4 separate regions of the Homo sapiens genome follow, and regions 1, 3 and 4 are each linked to region 2. The links are contacts of gene promoters, found by promoter capture Hi-C in blood cells and fetal thymus (Javierre and others, 2016). All regions are on one chromosome and are shown on one strand. Each heading gives the region's core, a stretch centred on a gene start or on the middle of the fragment in contact. The rest is flanking DNA. Distances are from core to core; before and after follow the strand shown. Region 1 has its middle 20 kb from the start of TRC-GCA16-1. Region 2 holds the start of ZNF783 (zinc finger protein 783). Region 3 has its middle 2.6 kb from the start of TRC-GCA16-1. Region 4 has its middle 7.3 kb from the start of TRC-GCA22-1.

Evidence for each region. The method cuts DNA at HindIII sites, captures the fragments that hold promoters and counts their contacts. A CHiCAGO score of 5 or more calls a contact.
Region 1: a contact is called between a fragment that was not itself captured here and the fragment with the promoter of ZNF783 in region 2, in 1 of 17 cell types (neutrophils). The highest score is 7.7, in neutrophils.
Region 3: a fragment that was not itself captured here is called in contact with the fragment with the promoter of ZNF783 in region 2 in 9 of 17 cell types (neutrophils, naive CD8 T cells, M1 macrophages and 6 more); the score reaches 9.4 in neutrophils.
Region 4: a fragment that was not itself captured here is called in contact with the fragment with the promoter of ZNF783 in region 2 in 5 of 17 cell types (erythroblasts, monocytes, endothelial precursors and 2 more); the score reaches 9.3 in erythroblasts.

Annotation. Positions count from the first base shown.
Region 1 is chr7:149,525,487-149,528,186 of GRCh38, reverse strand. No RefSeq gene overlaps it. Among named protein-coding and RNA genes, the nearest start is that of TRC-GCA16-1, 20 kb to the left of the region's middle. The HindIII fragment of the contact is 6,318 bases long and covers 1-2,700 here.
Region 2 is chr7:149,260,936-149,263,635 of GRCh38, reverse strand. It overlaps ZNF783 (zinc finger protein 783), which reads right to left and starts at 1,440. Exons shown (of 6, transcript NM_001195220.2): 1 at 1,279-1,440. The coding sequence starts at 1,302. It overlaps LOC124901769 (a long non-coding RNA gene), which reads left to right and starts at 1,295. Exons shown (of 2, transcript XR_007060582.1): 1 at 1,295-1,989. RefSeq lists a silencer at 973-1,842. The HindIII fragment of the contact is 3,928 bases long and covers 1-2,257 here.
Region 3 is chr7:149,542,630-149,545,329 of GRCh38, reverse strand. No RefSeq gene overlaps it. Among named protein-coding and RNA genes, the nearest start is that of TRC-GCA16-1, 2.6 kb to the left of the region's middle. The HindIII fragment of the contact is 1,807 bases long and covers 423-2,229 here.
Region 4 is chr7:149,562,703-149,565,402 of GRCh38, reverse strand. It overlaps the pseudogene ZNF767P. Among named protein-coding and RNA genes, the nearest start is that of TRC-GCA22-1, 7.3 kb to the right of the region's middle. The HindIII fragment of the contact is 669 bases long and covers 1,005-1,673 here.

The DNA of each region.
Region 1 (2,700 bases), core at 199-2,698, 260 kb before region 2:
TAACACTGAGGTGTAGCCTTGGCAAGAAACCTTCAGTTGCCCCAGGACCTCCTTCCAGCCCCACGCAATTGCTAGGCCCTCCATGAAAGGAAACTGGATTGGAACAGAGCCAACATTCCCACTACCTGAGGGTGATCGGGGATTGACAAAGTCCTCTCCAGCATGTCTGTCCCCTTAGTCTTGTAAGGCTGGCAGCCACATTATTCATCTTTAACTGGCTGACAGGGTTCCAGTGTTTTGTTTAATTTTTAAAAACTGAGAATGAGAAGTCTCAGAAATGAAAGTAAAGAGTTGGAGGTCAGCTCCTGCTCACCATTCCAATATGTCGTTTCCTGGCCAACACGCCACAGTGTTGCAGTCTTGTTGTCTGAGGTATTACCCAAGCTCTTTGTCTCACAACCAAGAACATTAAGGAGTGTGGACACCAAGGGTGAGGTTGGAGCAAAAGTTTAATAAGCAAAAGAGGAAAGCTCTCCACAGCAGGGGGCCCAGAAGCATTGCCATTTTTTCAGTTGAATACAAAGGGTTTTTTAAGAAACTTTCCCTATCTGTGTAGCTGTCTGTGTAACTGCCCTTATCTGTGCAGCTGCAGCATGTCTCAGGTAAGCCTCCCCCAACATGCAAGTTTCCACGGAGCCCACCATTTGCATGTTCATAGAAAGGGAGGAAACCTTTTCTTGGGAGCCTGTTGATCATACAAAGAACAAAGGCATTTCTTTATTGGGGCTTGCTCCCATATCTGTGCAGCTGCAGCTTGATTTTTTTTTTTTTTTTTTTTTTTTGAGACGGAGTCTCACTCTGCTGCCCAGGCTGGAGTGCAGTGGTGCAATCTCAGCTCACTGCAAGCTCTGCCTCCCAGGTTCACGCCATTCTCCTGCCTTAGCCTCCTGAATAGCTGGGACTACAGGCACCCGCCACACCTGGCTAATTTTTTTGTATTTTCAGTAGAGACAGGGTTTCACCATGCTAGCCAGGATGGTCTTGATCTCCTGACCTTGTGATCCGCCTGCCTTGGCCTCCCAGAGTGCTGGGATTACAAGCATGATCCACCACGCCTGGCCTGCAGCTTTATTTTTCAGGCTGTTTCTCTGTTTGAAAAAATTCTACTTAGTACCTGCCTTAACTGTCAGCTCAACTGGGTTTTTTTCCTTTCTCCTCTCTCAGAGGGAGGCAAGGAAGTACCACAGTGTTGGACTGACATTGTAAGTAGTGGTGTAAATACACACACACACACACACACACACACACACAGAATTTCATAACTGCCTTCTGAAAGGGACCAGAAACAATCATTTAGTTGCATTGAGCACTCTTAATGCCCATAATTTAGAATTAAATTCCCTTAAGAGGAATCAGGAGACCAGACGTGGTGGCTCACGCCTGTAATCCCAGCACTTTGGGAGGCCAAGGCAGGTGGATCACGAGGTCAGGAGATCAAGACCATCCTGGCTAACATGGTGAAAACCTGTCTCTACTAAAAAAATAAATAAATAAATAAAAATTAGCCGGGTGTGGTGGCGGGCACCTGTAGTCCCAGCTACTCGGGAGGCAGAGGCGTGAACCCGGGAGGTGGAGCTTGCAGTGAGCCGAGATCACGCCACTGCACTTCAGCCTGGGTGACAGAGCGAGACTCTGAAAAAAAAAAAAGAAAAGAGAGAGAAAGAAAGAAAAGAAAGAAAAAGAAAAGAAAGGAAGGAAGGAAGGAGAAAGAAAAGAAAAAAAGAAAGAAAAAAGAAAAGAGAAAGAAAAAGAAAGAAAGAGAAAGAAAGAAAGGGAAGTCAGGAACTCCTGAAGAAATGTCTGATTCCAGGGCTGGACAGGAAACCTAAAAGGTAAACAATGGAACATCTTGTGCCAGAAGAAAGTGCTTAAAAACTGATAGAGTTATGTCAACAGAACACAGGAGCCAGCCTGAAGAGACTCACTCCTAGCTAAATTTAGGGCAATTTAAGCATTGCAACAAATAAAGATAGGAATATTTTATAGCTCATTAAAGAGTCTGTGAATCCATATTAGTAAATTTATTTTTTTATTTAATGTAAAGAGAGAAAATCTCTTCCTTACCAAAAAAATTAACTAACAAATATAGATGGAATGATGGAAATATAAAACATCATTTTATAAACATCATTGTAGTAATTGATTTGGGTAACAATCATTATCAGATGCTAAATTTGTTAGTTGAATATTGTTGGAGAACAGAATTTTTAAAAATATGTCAAACACCATTTAAGTTAAATAATCAAATTCAACTCCACCAGTCATGGGACAAACTGACTTCCTTGCCTCCTGATGTGATACACTGAGAAGAGCACAACCCCACCTCTGTAGTAATTTTACCAAAATATTGAACTTTATTTAAATAATGAGAAAACAATTAGACAAATCCTCTCCAAAGAAACCAATATACTAATTTTAGCATATTTTGGGCCTATTTTTGACTTTACATACTTTTATGTTTGTGAGATCCAGTCATGCTGCTGTATAGATATTGAATACAGGGACATTCTGCAAAACAGCTGGCTCAGGCTCCTCAAAAATGTCAACATCGTGAAAGAAAACAGAAGTCTAGAGAACTAGTCTAGATTAAAGTGATCTTAAAATGCATGGAAACCATATACAAACAAAAGCGTTGATTGGGTCCTGCATTAGAAATAAAAGACTGTCAATGATATTATTGGGATAATTAAGAAATATAGA
Region 2 (2,700 bases), core at 191-2,690:
AACTTATATAGATGAAGATGCCAAAAAAACTGATGTGATTCTTCCTTCTCCAGGAGAAAAATTCTGTATAGGAATACTTATAGTGTATTCTTATGAATAAACTTATTCATATAGATATGTATCTGGACAGATAGATAGATAGATATAAATGAGACAGGCACCTGCGCCTGTAATCCCAGCTACTTGGGATTGGGAGGCTGAGGCAGGAGAATACCTTGAACCCGGGAGGCAGAGGCAGAGGTTGCAGTGAGATGAGATCCCGCCACTACACTCCACCCTGGGTGAGAGTGAGACTGTGTCTAAAAAAAAAATATATATATATATATATATACACACACACACACACACACACACACACACACACACACACGTATATATATATACTTTTTTAATTAAAAAATTTTAAAATGGCCGGGCGCGGTAGCTCTCGTCTGTAATCCCAGCACTTTGGGAGGCCGGGGCGGGCAGATCACGAGGTCAGGGGTTCGAGACCAGCCTGGCCAACATAGTGAAACCCAGTCTCTACCAAAAATAGAAAAATTAGCCAGGCGTGGTAGCAGGCGCCTGTAGTCCCAGCTACTTGGGAGGCTGAGGCAGGAGAATCCCTTGAAGCCGGGAGGCGGAGCTTGCAGTGAGCCGAGATCGTGCCACTGCACTCCATCCAGCATGCGCAACAGAGCGAGACTCCCTCTCAAAAAAAAAAATTAAATAAAATCTGCTACAGTAATCTTTTTTAAAAAAATCTACTATCTCTCTTGTAAACGACACAATCTTTCTCTTTGGCAAAAGTAGAATATGAGGCGTTTTAAAGTGTCTAATTCCAAAATCCCTGCCCCGGCGTGAGGCTCCCGCCTCTAATAGATGCGTGACCCTGGGCCTGTCCCTTCCCATCTCAGCCTCCGCTACTGTCCCGTGGGGCTGGCGGCCCCTGCCCGCCCAGCCTGCTGTAGGGGGGGCCGCGAGGCCTCAAATGGGACAATACTCCTAAGGCGCGGCCTCCTCGTCGCCGAGCGTGACTCTGGGGCCCGGCCTGGCTGAGGCCGCAGATGGGCCGGATCGTCAGCCGCTGACGTCGGGGCCCCGCCCGCCGGGCCTGGCATTTGGGCCGCCCGGTCAATGCCTTCGACGCGGGCTGGGCGATGGGCCGGGGGCAACGAGCGCGGAGGCTGCGCGCAAGGCCCTCTCACCCCGCGGCCTCGCGCGGCCAGAGTCCCTCGCGCGGGCTCACGCGGCGGCGGCCTGGGCCTTCCGGGCGTCCGCGGGGCCGAGGGCGCTTACCCGGGCAGGCGCCGCTTCGGCCATGGCTGCCCGCGTCCCTCGCTGGGTTGCAGTCCCTGGACCCGGCCTGTCGGGCCCGGGGCGGCGCGGCAGCGACGGCGGAAGCGGAGCGGGACCCGCCTAACCTGAGAGCTACTGCCGGGCGGCAGCGAACTGCGTCCCGAGCCACGTGCCCCGCTGGCCCTTTAAAAAAGAGCTGCGCTCGGCGGCCGAGCTTGAGGACGCGCACAGCGCCCCCTGCAGCCCGTAGGACCGCACGCCCGCGGCCGCCGCCCCGCGCCCTCCCGAGGCCTTCAGCGCCCGCGGCGTCCGGGACCCAGGCGCGGCCACCCACCCTCACCCGGGGCGCGGGAGTTGACGCCAGGGCGGGCGTGCCACGGCCTCCAGCGGGGCTACGTCAGGCGTAAGCCACTCCCGGGCCAGCGCGGCGCCCAACCTCTCTCTGCGTCCCACGCGGGAGCCGGGAGGGCTGCGGGAAGGAACCGCGCTGGAAAGTGCGAAACCTCGCGAGGGAAAGCTGCGTGGGGAACGGGGTCGGCCCTCGCCGGGGCTCCAGTCCGGACCGAGACTCTGTTGCAGCGCCTCCCACGCACCACAGAACTGAGTTGGGGAAAGTAAAAAGGATACGTGTGTACCCAGGGAGAAGCCAGGGAAACTTACATGAACGTTTTTAAAGTCTCTTTTAAATTTGACAGAACAAACGTGAAGATGGTAGGATTTTTTTTTTTTTTTTCCTAAGCCTGCCCTCCCCTCCTGAGGACTCTGGGGTCCCTTCCTCCTCCCGGGGCCCGCCTGGTGAAAGTCCTCAGCCACCCACGAGGACCCTTCTGTAGCTTTGGTCCAGGCTGAGATCACAGCAAGTGTGAATCAGTCCATCCCTCATTTAGGCCCTGAGGCATCTTGAATAAACCGCAGGACCCATTTTCCTCGGCCTGTGCTGAGGCATATTGAACTAAATGTGCTGTATGCAGTTGAAGCTTTGTTTTCTGTCTTTTCTGCATTTCCCATTCATCTCACAGTCTTTGTCCAACAAGCTGGCAAACTCTTCCCGCTAGAAATCTGCAGTTTTGTTTCTTTCTGTGTTTGGGTTTGTTTGGGGTTTTTTGGTTTTGGTTTTGTTTTTTCTTTTTTGGGGGGGGGGGGTGAGGGTGAGAAGTTATTTTCACAAATATTTGAGCCAAGCAAAAGCGTGGTCAACTATCAGAAAAAACACAAACTGATATCCTAAGTAAGGTGAACCCCAAAATTTGCGGAAAGGTTAGGACGTGTTACTTTAAGGTAACAAATCAAATAAATATTTGGCATTATTCATTTTGGAAATTCTTGTTGAACTATCCCAATCTAAAACACAAACTGCAAGTATGCACTAAAGACATTAAGAGCATCCCTAGGATCTTATCAGGGATCAGTCCAATCTATTCA
Region 3 (2,700 bases), core at 77-2,576, 280 kb before region 2:
AAAGTCCAAAAGTCTACAACCAGCAACCGTCATACTTAATGGTGCAACGTTAGAAGCATTCTCTTAAAAACTGGAAATGACAAAGATGCGTGGTAGCTTTGTTTCTATTTAAAACCACCAAAAGCTAGAGGTAGTGCATTTAAGACCAAAAAAGTAGGGTTTTTCAGTGGAATAGAAGAAACAAAACACCCATTATTTCAGTGACACTGTGGTTATATAGAAAACACAAAGTAATCTACAAATTATCTGAATTATTAATTTTAATAAATTCAAATAAGTTATACAATAAACTTATTTTAAATCAAATATATTTCCACACACCTGTAACAGAAATGAAATTTCTTAACAGAGTAACAAAAATACAGGCTCCCTAGGAATAAATACAAGTTGTACAAGACCTTTGTTTAGACTATTTTAAAGCTTCATTGAAATATTTAAAGGGTACTTAAATAAGTAGAGAAGTATGCTTTGTTTTTGGATAGGACAAGACAATTTTGTAAAGATACTGCTCTCCAAATTTACAGATTTAATGCAATTGCAATCAAAATCCTAATAGTGATTTTTATAGTAATTGACACACTAATGTTAAAAATTATGTGGGAAAATAAAGAGTTGGGAATAGGTAGAGTTTATCTGAAGAAAAATAATTAGGCAAGGAAACCAGCGCTACCAGATATGAAGACTTATAATGTTATAAGACCGTGTAGTATTGACATAAGGGTACACAAACAAAACTAATGAAGAGAATGGGGATTCTAAAAATTGACTATCCATAGATAGAAACCTGATATATGAGAGAGGCAGCATTGTAGACCAGTGAAGAAAGGGTGTACTCTCTGATAAAAGAGTGCTAGGACAATTAGATATTCATTCACAAAATAAATTCCAAGAGGATTCAAGACCTAAATATAAAAAAATCTTTTTAACAAATTTAGAAAATATGAGAAAATTCTTATGATATTGGAGTAGAAGAAGGATTTTCAAATTAAGACAATATAAAAAAAGATTTATTAATCCATGTATTAATCCATTCTGGTTCATTGCAGTTAAGAAACGTCTCTGTTCTGAAAGCCCTCAGATAGTGAAAAGGTGAGTCACATAGCAGGAAGAGAGGTTTGTGAATCATTGTATCAGCCAAGGTAGAGTAAGAAATCAGAAACTACACTCGGCATTTCAACAGAAAGAATTGATTATAAAGTATTGGTTAAATAGGCATTCATGAAATGGAAAGGCAAAGAGAACCCCAAGGTGATGCAGAGATAATAACGTCTGGAAGCAGCTTTCTCCTGCTAGTTTTGAGAGAAAAAGTGAAGAGGCTGCAGTTATCAGAATAGAGAATTGTGGAGCAGGGGCTCTGAGGAATTGGACCTCACACTTGTGAGGATGGGGTGCTGCCCAGCTGGTGCCAGTAACTCAGGAGCTCAGAAGGTGGGTCTTCCAAGGTAGAGCGCTGCCAATGAGGGTGGTTCCAGGAGTGCCATAAGAAAGCTGGCACAAGACCCAGTGCTTCCAGCATTAAGGGTCATTGCTGGGGCTGCGCTGATGGGAACAACAAATGGAACAAAAGCATGTCCCATTCTTCTCTTTCTGCCGTCCCATCCTCATCTATTGCTTCAATCAGCAGAATCTGCAGGAAGCCAGCAGGTAGATGAGAAATGTAGTTTGCAGAGTGCCACAGCCTCAGTAAGCAGGGTCAAGAAGGGTGGGCTCAGAGCTAAGAGACAGTATAGTTTAATTTCTGGCACAACCAGGTAGTCAACAAAGGACTTCTATCCAGAATACAGACTATCTTGATAAGAAAATAGCCAAAAGGAGAGGAGAAAAATAAGCAAAGAACTTGACAAGCATTTCTTAGAAGTAACAGGAAAGACTACTAGACATATACAAAATGCTTAACCTCAGTGGTAATCAGGTAAATGCAATTTAAAATGGAATACCATGTTACAGCCGTCACCAAATTAGTAAGAAATTAAATTTCCTGGCACTCCATGGTGTCAGAGTACATTTTCTACTCCAATGATGTAAACCAATGAGAGCTCTTCTACACTGCTGGTAAGAGCATATCATACACCTGTATAACTTCTTTGAAAAACAGTTTAGTATTATTTAGTAAAGCTACTCATGCATATACTCTCATTTCTCTCTCGGGCATATGCCCTATAGAAACTCTGCTACATGTGCACCAGGAGACACATTCATAGATGTTCATACTCTGTATGATCCAAAGCTTTTAAAATTGATTCAGACTTGTTTTATGGCCCAACATATGGTCTATGTTGGTAAATATTCGATATGCACTTGAAAAAAATGTGTATTGTGTAGTTGTTGGATGTTGTGTTACATAAGTGCAATTTAAATAAGTTGGTTAATAGTGTGGTTTAAATCTATATTCTTACTGACTTTTTTGCTTGTTTGTGTTACTTGTTACTAAGGAAAGTACTAAAATCTCCAGTTATAATTGTGAATTTGTCAATTTTCTTTATGCTTCCCTTTGTTTTTGCTTTATGTGTTTTGGAACTCTGTAATTAGGCATGTACACACTTAAGATTCTTACATCTTCTTAATAAATTAACCCTTTTATCATTATGAAATGTCCATCTTTATCACTGGAAATATTTCTTTTTTTTTTTTTTTTTTTTTTTTGAGACGGAGTCTCGCTGCATCACCCAGGCTGGAGTGCAGTGGCGCGATCTCGGCTCA
Region 4 (2,700 bases), core at 90-2,589, 300 kb before region 2:
TTTAATGACATGATTTTTTTCCTTTAATCTGTTGTCTTAGCTTGGATTTCCTTAGAAGCAGACCCTGAAGCTAGAATTTAAGAGCAAGTAGTTTATTTGGGAGGTAAGTTCAGGAAACACCAGTAAGGAGTGGGAAGTCAGAGAAAGGAAAGAAGCCAATAAAAGGTGGTGTTAACCTAAATAACAGACGGAAGCTCTCTGAAAGGAAATTATATTTATTTAGGGAATGAGCATTGGCAATGGGAATACAGGTGTCACAGTAAACTATGTGTGTTTTTGAGGAGGTCATGGTAAGGGAAAGTTTTTAAAGGCAAAATGAGAAGGATTATATAAATTGTTTTGGAGAAATAATTCTTGGCTCTAGCAATCAGTAACAAGGGTGGCAACAGTCCAAGGCTAGTCAGGCTTTTGCTGGGCAGATGTCCTTGCAGAAGTATTTTTTGTGAGTGTGTAAGGTTACAATGGCCTTTGTGCAAGGTTGTGGTTTTTACAGTCTTTTGTGATAGTTCTTGTTATCAGGAATTCATATATAAAAGCTCTACCTTTGTGGCCTTCCCTGGCTCCATTTGCCGGGTTTTAACACAAGTGACTCCATTTTCATTCTGACAACTTTCACAGTGGGATATTGGACAAGTTACCATTATAGGCAACTGGAGCTTAATACCGTTGGGGACTTTGTAAGATGTATAACATGCTTGAGGGTTATCCTCTCCAAAAGAACAAGGCAACTTGTGTATTTCTCCATCTACTGCTATCAGTCATCGGTAGAGGGTTGCTTTCGAAGGTTGGGTCCTAATTATTTGGTACTTTCAGCCTGTTACATGTTTGGGCAGCCTGAGAATGCCCTCAGACATAAAGTTACAGGTGCTGACAGTTGAAATTGGGGCCTGCATGCACAGAACTGATAAGTTCTGAAGGAATATCAGTGGGGCAGCAACAGCATTTGCTATATCCTATAGTGTGGTGAATTACAGTAATAGATTTTTCTAATGTTAAGTCAAGCTTACATTCTGAAATGATCTTAATTTGGTTATGTGTTATTTTTTATGTAATGCTGGCTTTGATTTATTAATAGTTTTGCTTATGGTTTTTAAAGTCTATTCTATATTAATATGTGAGATTGGCCTGTTTTCTTACATTGTCTTTGTTATTTTTTATAATAAGTTTAACCTCATAAAATGAGGTGGGAAAGGGACTGCTGCTTTTAGTTTTCTATTCTCCAGAAGTGTCTGTGTAAGACTTACATCGTTTCATTCTGAAGTGATTGGTATAACAAGTGTTTGGTATAACAAGTGTTTAAACTATCTGTGCCTGGAAGTTTTTTGTTACTTTTTTAATGGCAGAATGTTTCATTGAAAATACAAGTTCCTTAATTGTTCCATGATTAGTCATGATTTTTACTTCTTCTTGTGTCAATTTTGATAAAATTAAGCCAGATGTCGAGGACAAATACCACTAGTATAAGCATAAAGTAAGATTTATTTGGGAAAAGTTACAAACAATGCATCAGAATGTCTGCAACTTCCCAAACTCTCTTTATTTCAAGGAAACATGTTCTTGAGCTGGACACAGTTAGACACACGGTAGCAAGTACTCCAGAAGAGACGTTCTTTCTCTGTGCCACATCAGATATTTACAGGGAAGTTTGGAGGGAATACTTAATAGTAGAAGCTTCTTGGCAAAAGAATCAGCCTTGCTGGTAGACAGGAGAATGTGGAGCATTGCCACCAAGTGCTTATGAGGTTGGCATAATGGTACCTGTATCAGCTAAAAAATTGTATTTTTTTCCTTTGAACCAGTTTAGTACTGCTAAACTAAAGTAGATTAATGAGAAGGGAGAGAGAGCCAAGACCATCAAGCAGACAAAGAATTTCTCTCTTCATGTAAGTTTTACTTTTCTAGAAACTTTTCCATGCCATGTAAATATTACATTTCATTGGCATAAAATTGCTCATAATAATATCTTACAATCTTTTTAATTTTGGGGGAACTATAATAATGCATCCTTTTCTCTCCTGATATTGGTTATTAGTGTTACTTTGTCAATCTTGTCTGGGTTATTACTTTTATTGTTTGTTTCAAAAAACAACTTTAGCTTCATTGACCCTCTCTCTTGTGTGTTTTCTACTTAATTAATTTGTGCTTTCATTAATTAATGTATTACTTTCTCCCTTATTTTTTCCTTGGATTCATTTTACTATTATTCATGCCTTTTGGGAGAGATGCTTAGTTTGTTCATTTTAACCTTTTCTTTCTATAATACTAGAGATGCATTAAGACTGTAAATTGCCATGTAAGTACTCTAGAGCTGCAACTGATAAATTTTAATATCTAGTATTTTCATCATTTAGTTCAAAATATTTTATAATTCCTATTACAATTTATTCTTTGACCCATGGGTTATTTATATGTAGAATTTTTAGTTTCTAAACACAAAGATTTTCTAATATTTGTTGGATTTGTTAGTTATTTGATGTTATTAATTTCTAGCTTAATTTTATTTTTGTCAGAAAACATGCTGTTTATGATTTCAATACTTTGGAATTTGTTAAGACTCGCTTTGTGGTTCAGTATACAACTCATGTTTGTCAGTGTTCCACGTGTGCTTGGAAAAAAATGCATATTCTGCATTTAAGTGCAAGATTCTTTACATGTTAAACAGGTCAGTTTTGTTAGTCATGTTGTCCAAATCGTCTGTGT